2 separate regions of the Homo sapiens genome follow, and region 2 is linked to region 1. The links are contacts of gene promoters, found by promoter capture Hi-C in human tissues and cell types (Jung and others, 2019). All regions are on one chromosome and are shown on one strand. The core of a region is centred on a gene start or on the middle of the fragment in contact, and the rest is flanking DNA. Distances in the headings are between cores, read along the strand shown. Region 1 holds the start of MAPKAP1 (MAPK associated protein 1). Region 2 has its middle 160 kb from the start of MVB12B.

What was found. The method cuts DNA at HindIII sites, captures the fragments that hold promoters and counts their contacts. A contact is called where the count stands out against the background at its distance.
Region 2: a fragment that was not itself captured here is called in contact with the fragment with the promoter of MAPKAP1 in region 1 in 1 of the 25 tissues and cell types used here (IMR-90 fibroblasts).

The regions. Positions count from the first base shown.
Region 1 is chr9:125,704,125-125,710,426 of GRCh38, forward strand. MAPKAP1 (MAPK associated protein 1) reads right to left here and starts at 3,084. Exons shown (of 12, transcript NM_001006617.3): 1 at 2,847-3,084. RefSeq lists silencers at 2,788-3,017, 3,128-3,297 and enhancers at 3,006-3,300, 3,298-3,457. The HindIII fragment of the contact is 13,511 bases long and covers 1-6,302 here.
Region 2 is chr9:126,163,998-126,171,116 of GRCh38, forward strand. No RefSeq gene overlaps it. Among named protein-coding and RNA genes, the nearest start is that of MVB12B, 160 kb to the right of the region's middle. The HindIII fragment of the contact is 6,764 bases long and covers 1-6,074 here.

The sequences.
Region 1 (6,302 bases), core at 1,834-4,333:
TCCAGAGGGTCCGCATCCACATCACAAAGAACAAGCAACATGGTGTAGTAATGAAGAGTGCCGATCTCAGTGTTCAGCAGATAATCCCCTCTATCTTACAGCTCTACCAGCAGCATAAACTCAAGGAAGTTATTCAAGGTCTCTGTGCCCCAGTTTCCTCATCTGTAAAATCAGGATGCTAATAACACCTTCTCACACGAGAAAAAAATGAGATAAAGCATTTAACATCACACCAGCAGAGTAAGTACTCATTACCTACCATCATCAGTGTTTCCTTCTCAGTGTTCTATGGTACCTCCTGGGGACTTCTACCTTAGAACCCACAGTACTTTATTATGGTTCACCTGCACACACACAGACATCTCCTCTACTAGAATGTCAATAACCTCAGGATAGGGACCCAATTTTACTTCTTTTTGTATCCCCAAGGTCTAACATTTTGCTTGGCACTGCTGAAATGAATCGTAGATCCTCGAAGTATTTATTAACTGGAAAAGTTATTAGCAGAAACTGGAATTTACCTCCCTTGCCTGGTACTCAAGCCCTCACTGACTCTGACCCCTACCGCCCCTCCAACTTTACGTCCTTGTACCCTGCTAAAAGAAGCAATGACTTGCATGACTCAGGCTGTAAACTCACTCACCAGTCTAAAACCATGCCTCAAGCATTATACCTTTGTATCTTATAGCTATTTATTTCGGGGGACTTTACCACGTACCAGGCCCTTTATCCCCATTAGTTCAATAAATATTCACAACACTCCATGTGGTCAATATTATTCCCTAACCCAACCCCTAGTTGAAGAAAGTGATGCTTGGAGTTATGTGTCGAAGGTCACATATCCTGTAAGAACAGGGACCAGGAATTGAATCCAGAGTCCATGCCTATTTTCTATAGACTGTCTTCTCTGCTCATATTCAAAGCTGAGCTAACTAACCTACCTGCCATCTCCTTGCCTTGGAAGAGCACAGTCTTTACATTTAAAAGATTTCTGTACCATTCATTTTAACATTCATATGTTTTGTCCTATATAACTTTTGGTTTCAATATGTACTTGCATAAAAAGAGGGAGATGATGTGAGAAAAAGGCAAGACATGTAATGGAAAAAGCACAGATTTAGGCATCAGACAGACCTGGGTTTGAATCCTGGCTCTGTCTCCTACCAGCTGTGTAATTTATTATGGGTCTTCCTAATCTGTAAATTGAGGTTAAAATGATTAAACAATAGAAACCCCTATATAATACCCAAATACTCAAAGTTTAGTTTACCTCAAATTATGAAGCATTACCTGGCCACATCCCATCCCTCAAAGGTGAATAACCCATTCCCCTCCCGCACCTACCACTGTCACAAGAACTCTCACACAATGTACTTATCACGGTGTTAGAATTATTCATTTCCCTTATCTCTCTTTCACTAAATTGAGCTCCCTGGCAGCAAAGACTGAATCTTATATTTATCTCTAATTGCCTAGCATGGTACCTGGCATATATATACATATCCATATTCAGTAAACATTTGCTAAGTTAAATAATTGTAGATAAAAATGAGCGCTTATAGAATTCTAGAGGAAAAATCATTTCCAGGTGGGGTTGTCCTGAATTGGTTGGGTGAGGCCAACTCAGCTGAGCCGTGGGAAGCGTCTCAATAGACTGAAAGAGAAAAGGGGAAACCTAGGCAAGGTAGGGAGAATGTTCTACAAAAATCAATGGAATAGGAAAGAACAAAAATGATTAGAGATCCTACTTATTCAGAGTAATGGATCAGGATGGGGTAATTAAAGAAGGAGACCTTTTCAAGCATAACTGGAAAGGTAACCAGGAGCCAGATTAGGAGATGTAAGGGGGTGTAAGTGCAGTCTGGGACACACAGTAGTTGAAGGTAGGCATGAGCACACAGATGAATGGGAAAGGGCTACCAGCATGCCCCAAATCCCGCAGGTGTGTAAACTGAAAAACATGAAAACAATTATTGCTTCATCAAGAACTCTTTCCGTGTTTACTAGGTACCTTGTGTGGGCTCATAAAATATAAGGAATAAAACCCATATCTAGGCTTCTGCTCAAGTGGGTTTTAACATTACGGATCCACCTCTCCTGCTTGTCAGAGAATGAGAACGCTGCTTTTTTTAAACCAATGGGTCTCCATTTGACTCTTCACACCTGGGAAAGTTTTGAACTTTGCCGATTTGGGTTTATAACAACATGGTGCTTTGTACAGTGCCAGGTACTGTGGTGGGCTTCCAAAGTGACTTTCATTCATTCAAAAGGAAGTTTTAACCAATTTCTGAGTCAATTTGGGGGTCTCTGGTTAAAGTCATAATCTTGTTTACGCTACAATCTCTTTTTCCCAGCCTTAAACAAATCTAAATGACTCCTTGCCACTCCCATAAACAAAGAATGAATCAAAGTTCCAGCAGCACTGTAGCTAGAAAAAAGTCTGTAAGGCTGTTAACCTCTTTAAGGGGGAGGGGGAGAAGGGACGCAAGGAAACAAGGACCACACAGTCAATGCTTGAAAACCTTGATTTTCACATTATGAAGACCAGGGCACCTAGATATTGCCAAGTGCAGGCCCAGAAACTGCCGGAGTCAACTACACCCCCCACCCCCACACTACCAGGTCAGCTGGCTTCTTTTCCCCTAAACCACACACCCGCCTCAGACTCCTGACAGCCTCCAGTTCTGGAAATGGCCAGGAAACGAACGCGCCCGGGCCACCTGAACAAGGGCCCGGCAGGCGGCCCGCCGGGCAGCGCTGAAACTGGAGGGGTGAGAGGGCCGCCAGGTGGGCAAGCTGGTGGGCTGACGGACGGGCGGGGAGCTGGCGGCTGGGGCAACCTTTACCTGAAGCTGCTTCCACACTACGGGCCGGGTCGGCCCCGGGACACGTTCCTGAGGGGAGGGCCCGGCTCCCCCACGCCTCCCGGCCCCTGCCCCGAGCTCTGCACTCTCGGGATCCACGGGGACCGGCGCTCCTCCCGGCCCGCTCAGCTGCCGCTTCCCGGGTTAGCCCTCATGCCCCTGCTGCTCGCCGCCGCCGGCCGGCCGAGCAGCAGCCCTATTACCCCGAGCCGCACACGACCCGGAACCACACCCCGGCGTTCCGGAAGTCCCCGACCGGGAAGGAGCCTCTGGCTGGGGACGTAGTGCGCAAGCCCCAGAGCTGAAAGCAAGGAGCGGTAGCTTCCCGCGGGGCGGGGCCGGGAGGGAGGCCGGGCGCATGCGCGCCGCTTCTCCAGTGCAGGGAAAGGCCTGGGTCGGAGACTGAGTTCTGGCAAGATGCGCCAGTGCCTGGACTTGCCTTGAGCAGGAATCAGTGTTAGGCTTCTCCATCGAATCTTCTTTCTCCCCATTTCCACGGAGAAAAGCCCTTAGTTCGTCCAGAAATGAGTGATGAGGCAGCTCAGCCTCTCTGAGAAAGACCTGGGTTCAAATGCCAGCTCTTATAACTTGCTGTGTGTCCTAGGATGTGACACTTCTCTCTGAGCCTCGGGTTTTCCCATCCAGGGCAATAGTTTCAACTTTAGAGTATATTGCTGTGGGAATCGAATGGGATGATGCTTGAAAAACACCCAGCATAGTGCCTGACACATAGTAAACATGCAGTCAATGTTAGTTATTTCTCTTATTATAATATCTGTAATATGGAGGTGACAATAATCTTCCTCAAGCCCTGCTGGGAGGTTTCCAGGAGATGTAGGAGGACTGGCACAGGGCAGAAGTTCAGTGTGTCTCATGCTGCTCCCTTCCTCTCTCACGGAGGAAATCAGTAGAGAAAGCCACGATGAAGGGGGAAAAAGGATTCAGGGAGTGCAGTGAGAGTGGTTCTCCCACCTGAAAGATGCTTGGGGAAGTCTCTCAAAAACGCACCTTAGCAAAAGAAAAAACTCAAGGTTGAATTTCAGCCCTGAGGGACCCCTGCCCAATTTTAAACTTATTAATAAATATGCCATGGGGCCAGGCACGGTGGCTCACACCTGTAATCCCAGCACTTTGGGAGGCCGAGGAGGGCAGATCACTTGAGATCAGGAGTTCGAGACCAGCCTGGCCAACATGGTGAAACCCTGTCTCTACTAAAAATACAAAAATTAGTCTGGCGTGGTGGTGTGCACCTGTAGTCCCAGCTACTCAGGAGACTGAGGCAGGAGAATGGCTTGAACCCGGGAGGCAGAGGTTGCAGTGACCCAAGATCAGGCCACTGCACTCCAGCCTGGGTGACAGAGACTCTGTCTCAAAACAAAAAAACAAAAAACACGGTGGGTCTACCCATGTATTTCAAATATGGTCATCCATCACTTAATGATGAGGACACAAGAAATGCATCGTTAGCTGATTTTGTGGTTGTGTAAACATCATAGACTGTACTTACACAATGTCAGAGCCTACTACACACCTAGGCTGTTTGGTATTAGCCTATTGCTTCTAGGCTGCACACCTGTACAGCATGTTACTGTACCATATACTGTAGGCAATTCTAACACAATGGTATTTGTGTATCTAAACATCTCTAAATGCAGAAAAGGTACAATTAAAAGACCATGTTATAATCTTAGGGGACCACCATCATATGCACTCTGTCATTGACCAAAACATCCTCATTCCACGCATGACCATATGTGATTGATCTCTTACTACATCCCATTACTTTATGTAATTGGTATCTTACCACATATCTATACTGGGGGAATAGTGCACCTCAGCACCCAGACACACTCTTGCACACACACCACCACAGTTCCATCAGGGACCTGTCAGAGGCACTCTAACAAAGCAGCAGGTGTGAACAAGTTTGGATATTTGATTTTCTGAGGTCACCAGGTTATCTGTTCCTTCCTAAATCTTACTCTCCATTTTCCTCTCTCTCTCTCTCGAGTTCCAATCTGAAGCACAGCTGCCTGACTGTCTCCTAGACACATAAAACTCGACCTATCTAAAACTGCTAAGCAGTTATAGATTCTAAAGAGTAAATATTTCCTAGCACTTTGAGAGACCAAGGCAGGAAGATCATCTGAGCCCAGGAGTTCAAGACCAGCCTAGGCAACATGGTGAGACCCCATCACTACCTTAAAAAATTTATCTCTATATAGGCCGGGCACGGTGGCTCATGCCTGTAATCCCAGCACTTTGGGAGGCCAAGGGGTGCGGATCACAAGGTCAGAAGATCAAGACCATCCTGTCTTAACATGGTGAAACCCTGTCTCTACTAAAAAAAAAAAAAAAAAAATACGAAAAATTAGCCAGGCATGTGGCACACACCTGTAGTCCCAGCTACTTGAGAGGCTGAGGCAGGAGAATCGCTTGAACCTGGGAGGTGAAGGTTGCAGTGAGCACACCACTGCAGCCCAGCCTGGACAACAGAGTGAGAGTCTGTCTCAAAAAAATAAAAAATAAAAAAATATATATATACACACACATATACACATATATTTTTTTTAGCCAGGTGTGGTGGTGAATGCCTGTAGTCCTAGCTGCTTGGGAGGCTGAGATGGGATGATTGCTTGAGCCCTGGGAGGTCAAGGCTGCAGTGAGACGTGATCATGCCACTGCACTCCAGCCTGGATGAAAGAGCAATGCCCTGTCTTGAAAAAAAAATTAGAAAAATAAAAAGTGAATACTCACTCTGCCACTTACAAGTTTTGTGACTTCATCTCTCCAAGTTGCTTCTCTAAATATTCTTATCTTTACCTGGAAAATGGGAATGACAGAAGTCCTACATAACCTCATTAGTTTGTTGCAAGGATAGAATGACCTAATACATGTAGCTTACATATAACAGAGCCTGGCATGTGACTATTATTTACTAATGCCTACCAGTATGAGTATACCTCAGTCAGTAAGCAATACTTATTGAGTGCCTATTGAGATTCAGTGGTGAAAAAGCCAGACGGGGACCCTACCCTTAAGAAGCCTTGTAGTCAAGTTCGACTATGGGTTTGAAATACTGTAGTTACTGTGGTAAGTTGGCATGCAGTGATATATGGTAGGATTTCAAGGACAGTATTGAGGGCCCAGTTGAGAATGGAGACTAAATGTATGGTGATACTAATATGATGGCTAGTGTGATTATTCTATAGCTAGTTGGAGCAGTCACGATACACACACCCAAAGAATGAGAAGTTGGATTGATCCAAGGAAGGATTTTGCCAGACAGGTGTGATGGGGTCATATCAGCTTTTAAGAGTGCTTAAAACAATGAGCCATAGAAAGTATGCTGGATAGGGAAGCAAGAGAATTCCAGAAAAACAGGTATCACTGGCCTAAAGGTCTCAAATAGATGTAATGGAAGTCACTGATGAAGGA
Region 2 (7,119 bases), core at 1,443-3,942, 460 kb after region 1:
GTCTATAAAACGTTTCACAAAGTAACAAAAAGTGTAATGTGCAAGATCTTCAGAATGACCTTTAGAAGAAGTGACCACACCTTAGTGGTTCTTACCCTTGGCTGCCCATGGGCGTCACGTGGGAGTGTTAAAAAGCTCTGAAGCCCCGGCCTCACCCCCAACCAGTGACGTCAGACTCCCTGGGGTGTGTGGCCCAGCATGGTGTGTTTCAAAGCTCTTGAGTGGTCCCTGTGGGCAGCTGGGGCCGGAAACTGAAGCCCAATGTGTCTAAGCTGCATGCGTCTTTTTTTTTTTTTTTTTTTTTTTTGAGACAGAGTCTCACTCTATTGTCCAGACTGGAGTGCAGTGGCACAATCCGGCTCACTGCAACCTCCGCCTCCTGGGTTCAAGCAATTCTCTTGCCTCAGCCTCCTGAGTAGCTGGGACTACAGGCGCCCGCCACCACGCCTGGCTAATTTTTGTATTTTTAGTAGAGATGGGGTTTTACCATGTTGGCCAGACTGGGTTCGAACTCCTGACCTCAGATGATCTGCCTGCCTCAGCCTCCCAAAGTGCTGGGATTGCAGGCGTGAGCCACCGCGCCTGGCCTGTATGTGTCTTTCTTGCGTACCCTGATGGCTTCAATTCTCAGGTTAGCTTAAAGCCATTCTCATCCCAATTTAATTGAAGACCCTTGGTGAGTCCCTTAAACCCTCATGTGGAATCAAAATGTTGTGCTGTGGGGAGATGGCCTGAGGTTCTAGAACTCCCTGGCACTAGACCGTCCTTCAACAGGGCTTTTCCAAGCCCGTTTGCCCCCGGGCCCCTTTATCCCAGCTTTCTTTTGCCATCATTGTAACAGTCATCAACACAGCCCAGCCTGCTAATGAGTAGCCCCATCTGGGCACAGTCAGAGGAGAAAGGGTCTCTGCCCTCCAGGGACCAACGCCTGTCTGGGGAGGCAGCAATCCAGACTCGGATGAAGCCCTGGACCCCTCCTGAACCCCACGGCTGCCGGGGAGGTGGGGTGACTTCATCTCCACACTCTGGATCTTCCCGGGCGGTTCCCTTAGCAACAGGGCCTTGCTTTGACAGCCGCCTTCGCAGACAGTCTGCTTTCCGGGAGGCTCTTTCCACCAACCCCATCCTCTCTTCCAGTGGAAATTTTTGCAGGGGCTTCAAGCAGAGGCTCAAAGCAGGCCCTTCCTGACCTGTGGGGCGTCAGGCTGCCCCTGGACCCTACAGCCTTCCTGGACTGTTCACCAACGTCCCATACACAGGGCCTGCTCGTTCCTCCGGCTTCCCACTTCCTCCTGTTCCTGCAGGTCCTAATGAATTCAGTCTTGCTCTTCTACCCGCCCCCCACCGCTGCCTCCTTGCTTTTTCTACCTCCCGACTTTCTCTTCCCCCGACACACCTGTGCCCCACCTGCCTCTCACCCGCACATGAGCAGTTAAAGCGTCTGCGCTGACATTTAATGTTCTTAATATAGGCCTTGGTGACAGAGGGAAGCGGGCACAGAGTCCCCTGCTGGGCAGGGGGCTTTTCATCCCCTCTGCATGGGCATGGAGACCTTCCCTCCCCCAGTCAGAGGACAGGATGGCTTCAGTGGGGCCCACAGCTGCAGGCATTGCTGGCGACCATGTACTGAGCCCTGTGCAGGGAGCCTCTGGCCCCACAATAACAACTAATAGTATTCCCATTTCACAGGCTAGAGAATGCAGCTTCAGAGAGGTTAGCTAGCTTACTTAAGACCATCAGTTAATAATTGGGGACATCGGTAGTGACAAATATGAAATATTTTTGTCTCTGAGCACCCACCCAGTGGAAAAGCTGGACACCCCATGCCCCCGAGAGGGTCCTCATCAAAACTTGCAAAGGAGGGAGTTTAAGCTCAGCATCCACCTATAACCACAGTGCAGTGTGCTGGGGGAGCCCGGCCCAGGGCACCCAGTTGCCATGTGGTTTGCAAACAGCCAGCTGCTGCCGCCAGCTCTAACCCTGCCTCCGGTGCCCTCTCTTTATTGTCCTTCTGTTGGCTGCTGTCACTGATGTGGTGGGAAGAGGACTCCTCTATCAGCCCCCTAAAACATGGCCTGTGGGCAGCGGTGATGAGTTTGGGGTGAGTTTTCTGGCTGATGAGTTAGAGAACAATGGAACGATTCGTCCTTGGTTCACTCCTCGAAGAACCTCTTTCCACCAACCCATAAACTTAGGGCAGAGGCCAAGCAACTCGGTGTGGAAGGCAAGTGGTCTTGCTTCTTATTCCAGAGCCATAATCTCATTGCTCTGGCTTGAATGAAAATCCCAGGTCACCATCGTTCATCACCATTATTTCTCCCCAAAGGTCCATGGAATGCCATTTCAAATATCTGCTCTGGGCTTGGAGAGACCTGGGAGTCCATAGTGCAGAGGGGAAGCTTGACACCTGGGAGGTGGTGACTCCCTTGAGCGCAAGTCTAGGGGAGAGGGACACTGGGGAGGGATTCTGAGGGACACTGAGATGGGCTGGAAGAGGCCAGAAGAGGAGGCTCGGTGGCAGGGAAGGTGGAGAAAGTCCAAGGACGTGGAGTCAGGAAGGCAGAGGATGTCTCACTGGAGAGGGCTGGGAACTGGGTCAGGAGCTGCCATGTTGGGAAGGTGAGGGCTACGAAGCAGTGACCGCATTTAGTGACAGGTACATCATTGTTGATCTTGTTGGACGTTGTTTCAGTAAAGAATTGGAAAAAGAAGCCAGATTTAAGCAGGTCAAGGAATCCATGGGAGAAAAGAGAACAGAGCAGACAATTCTTTGGGGAATCCTGACTGTGAGGTCCCATACAGACATACAGAGAGGCTGAAGGTGAGGAATTGGTTTTGTTTGCTTGTTTTCGGGGTAGAGAGAGACTCGAGCATGTTTAGATGTTGATGAGAAGTCTCCAGCAGAGAGGGAAGGGATGGCTGGTTGGCCTTGGTCCCCAGAGGTGGAGGCAGCCAGCAGCTGGAATACTGGTACTGATGCAGGATTCATTCTATAGAAGTCCCAGTCTCCTCCACCAACCAAGAGGGAATGAAGTGATGGGGAGTGCTGATGGAGATGAGCCTGCACGTTCAATGGGGAGGGAGCGCTATGGCATCATCCTCTAACAGACAGGGAGAGGATGGTGAGCGGGGGAGGTTTGAGGAGAGCAGGGAAGGTTGGCAAGAATGGAGGCCAGGACAGAGAGCTGACCAGGGGAAGAACTGCTAGGCAACGATGGGAACCGTTAGAGGCTGGGGAACCATGAAGTTATCACGGCATCAACTGTTTAGCCAATCCTTTGTGATGTTCTATATTCCGACTTTTTGTATTAGTCAAATAAATTTGGGAAATATGTTGTATTTCCCATATAACATATTGGTATAATATGTTATACTAATAACAAGATTAGTTAAGCCAACTATGTTGCATCAATATGATGAAATGTTGGATTTCTCAGAGACTTTGATATGCTCATGTATGTTGTAACCTGCAGAATTGGCAGGTCCAATTTTATTTTTGACCACAGTATTTTTTCCTCACAAACCATCTCATGGTCTAGTGTTCTATTCAGTGGTGTGCTCGAGCTGGCTCATAAGAGCAAAGGTATGCATCTGTTTTTAATTTCTTGTCCAGTGACATCGGTGTGGCTTGACATCAGCCATGGTAGCAGTGTTTAGACCACAGAAATGGGCAAGTGCTACAAATCAGGGTTATTTCTCCTGGACAGCTGGTTGTTAAACACTTACCATTGCACTTCAGATATCTTGCACTGGTCAATGCAAAAGGAAAGAAACACAATAAGTGGTAAAACTATAAAAAAGAAAGGCTCAAAATTATTTTTCACATATTTTATGATTATTTACCTAGAAAATTCAAAAGATCAACTAGGGACTATTACAATTAATCAGAGAATTCAGTAAGATGCTGACTTAAAAGATTTATTCAAAAATCGATGCCTTTCCTATGTACTAGCATTAATCACCTAGAATATATGATGGAAAAAAGATGACATTCACCGTAACAACAAAAATAGAAAATATCCAGCAACAAACTTAGCAATAAATGTGTGAAGCTCAACTTAACATAAAAGTAGGAATTGACTATATGGAAACACCTGCTGTGTTCATGGGAAAGAAGATGAAAATTTGTCAATTCCATTAAGATTAATCCATACATTTAATTCCATTCCAATTAAATCCCAAATGTATTTTCTTACTTGCAATGTTAGCTCACTGGGAATTATAAATAGTCAAGAATGCCTAAGAACATCTTGATAAATGCAATTGATTGGGGCAAAAGCAAATTTTTTTTTTTTTTTTTTTTTTTTTTTTTTTTTTTGAGACAGAGTATTGCTCTGTTGCCCAGGCTGGAGTGCAGTGGTGTGATTTCGGCTCACTGCAACATTTGCCTCCTGGATTCAAGCAATTCTCCTGCCTCAGCCTCTTGAGTAGTTGGGAATACAGGCATGTGCCACCATGCCCAGCTAAATTTTTTTTTTTTTTGGTATTTTTTAAATAAAGACAGGGTTTTGCCATGTTGGCCAGGATGGTCTCAAACTCCTGAGCTCAAGTGATCTGCCTGCCTGGGCCTCTCAAAGTGCTGGGATTACAGGCATAAGCTACCACACCCGGCAGAGGCAAAAGCAACTTCTAAGGTCAGATATTAAAATGCAAGAAGCAAGAGGGTGATGCGGTGTTGTCACTGCTCCATTGCCCACGGTGGAATCTTGGTTTCTAGAACAGTACCTGGTCCACAGAACTACTCGATACATATTCATTGAATGAGCAAGTTACTGAGTGAATGAATGAAAAAAAATGCATCACGAGGATATTATAGTTCAATACACTTTGAATTGGTAAAATTAAACACATGATATAAAAAACATGAGTATACATAACTAATATATGATAAACGTGGCATTTCAAATCAGTAGGAAAAAACATGAGTTACTTAAAAAATAGTGTTGGGGTAATTGGCTAACCATTTAAAAAATAATAAAGTCGGGCAGGGCGCAGTGGCTCATGCCTGTAATCCCAGCACTTTGGGAGGTGGAGGCAGGCAGATCACCCAATGTCAGGAGTTTGAAACCAGCCTGGCCAACGTGGTGAAACCCCTTCTCTACCAAAAATACAAAAATTAGCTGGGCAAGGTGGCGGGCACCTGTTATCCCAGCTACTGGGGAGGCTGAGGCATGAGAATCACTTGAACCCCAGAGGCGGAGGTTGCAGTGAGCTGAAATCGCATCCCTGCACTCCAGCCTGGGTGACAGAGCAAGACTCCATCTCAAAAGGAAAAAAAAAAAGTCACACCATCGGACATATGCTAATAACAGGATTGGTTAAGCAAATTATGTTGCATCAATATGATGGAATGCTGTGGACCCACAAAAATCATGTTATGAATGATATTTATTGGCATGGGTCATGAAATTGCTCAGTGGAAAAGGGAACAGGAAACAAAATTGACAATGTAGTTCAAAAGACAAATGAAGGAGTCAGAGCTTGGATTCACATTTCGGCTCCATGATTGCTAGTAAGCTGTGTGACCTAAAGCAAGTTACTTAGGCTTTCTGTGCCTCAATTTCCTCATGGCCAAAACAGCAATAATAAAAGCACTTATTCATTCTTGAGAAGGATGAATATGAGAAAATGCATGCAAAGTACTTGGCATTGTATCCGGCACATAGTAGGTGCTCTGTAAATGTTCGCTGTTATCACAGCATTTACTGAGCACCTCCAGTGCCCCTGAGGGTACAGAGATGTGTGGGACACAATCCTTGGAGGTGCTTACAGGCTGGGAGGGAATGAGGAGATGAAGCCTTCTGTGAGCAGTTGATACCTACCTTATGCGTTAGGTTCTCCAGCAGGGGAAGCACATGCGTTCTGGGGACAGAGGAGGAACCTGGCCTCACCAGCAGGTAAGAGAAGGTTTGCCCTGTCTCCTTAGTCTTGAAGAACCATCAGAAAATGAGAAAGAGGAGTGTTCCAGGCTGCAGGAACAGCTTGGGCAAGTGAGAAGCGAGCCAGCTGCATGGGTGTATTGATGATGTTGAGGTAGGGGTGAGAGGTGAGGACGGAGAGAAAGGGGAGAGCAAAGGATTGTGGGTACCCAGTTAGTCATCTGTGGTCTACTAGCATGGCAGGCAGAGGGCTGCAGTGTCGGATGGGCAGTTTATAATCACTGCCCTGGCTGCTGGGTAGAGAGTGGATTGAATGGAGGAAGCTGGAGTCAGGGAGACAGCGAGGAGGCCAGTGTGGACACCCGGTGGAAGTGACAACACAGGGAGGTGACACAGGAAGGAATGAAATGCCTGAAGCCAGTGTTAAGGAGCCAGCTCCAAGGACCAGGGGCAGATGGGATGCTGTAGATGGGATGGAAAGAGCCCAGGGCAACACACGGGACTCAGCCCCAAGCCCCGGGGAGGATGGTGGAGAACAGGAAGAACAGGCTTACGGGAAGGTGGGACATGTTGATTCTGGACAGTTGATGAGAAGTGCATCTGGCCTCCAGAGATGGCCCAGAGCAAGCAGAGAGACCCTTGGCTCTGAGCCACCACAACACCCTGTGTGCCAGAGAGGCACTCCCAGGACACCAGCCTCGTGTGGAAAGAAGGGCCAGGAGGTCTTCCTGGGAGCACTGTGGGACAGGCATGGCATGGAGGCCAGCGGAGATGCCCAGGAGTGACTGTCAGAGCCACAACAGGAGGAACCAGAGGGCTTCTTGACATGGCAGCATCCCAGGAAGGAGAGGATGGGAGGAAGTGAGTTGGGGACAGAGTCAAACAGTCAAACAGAGACACAGGAGACAAGAAGAAGGGCTCCACGGATTGGCAACAAGGGTACCAATGGGCAGTTAACATGACCACATTCAGTGGAGGTGGGAGCTGGGATGGCACATGGTAGGGTGGGGGCAGCCAGCTCACAGGGGCCCAGAAGCCAAATATGTTTATGTATTTATTATTTATTATTTTTAGAGACAGAATCTTGCTCTGTGGACCAGGCTGGAGTACAGAAGCATGATCATGGCTCACTGTAAACTCCATCTCCTGGATTCAAATGATCCTCCCTTCTCAACCCCCCAAGGAACAGGGACCACAGGTGTGCACCACCTCCCCTGGCTACTTTTTTTTTTTCTTTTTT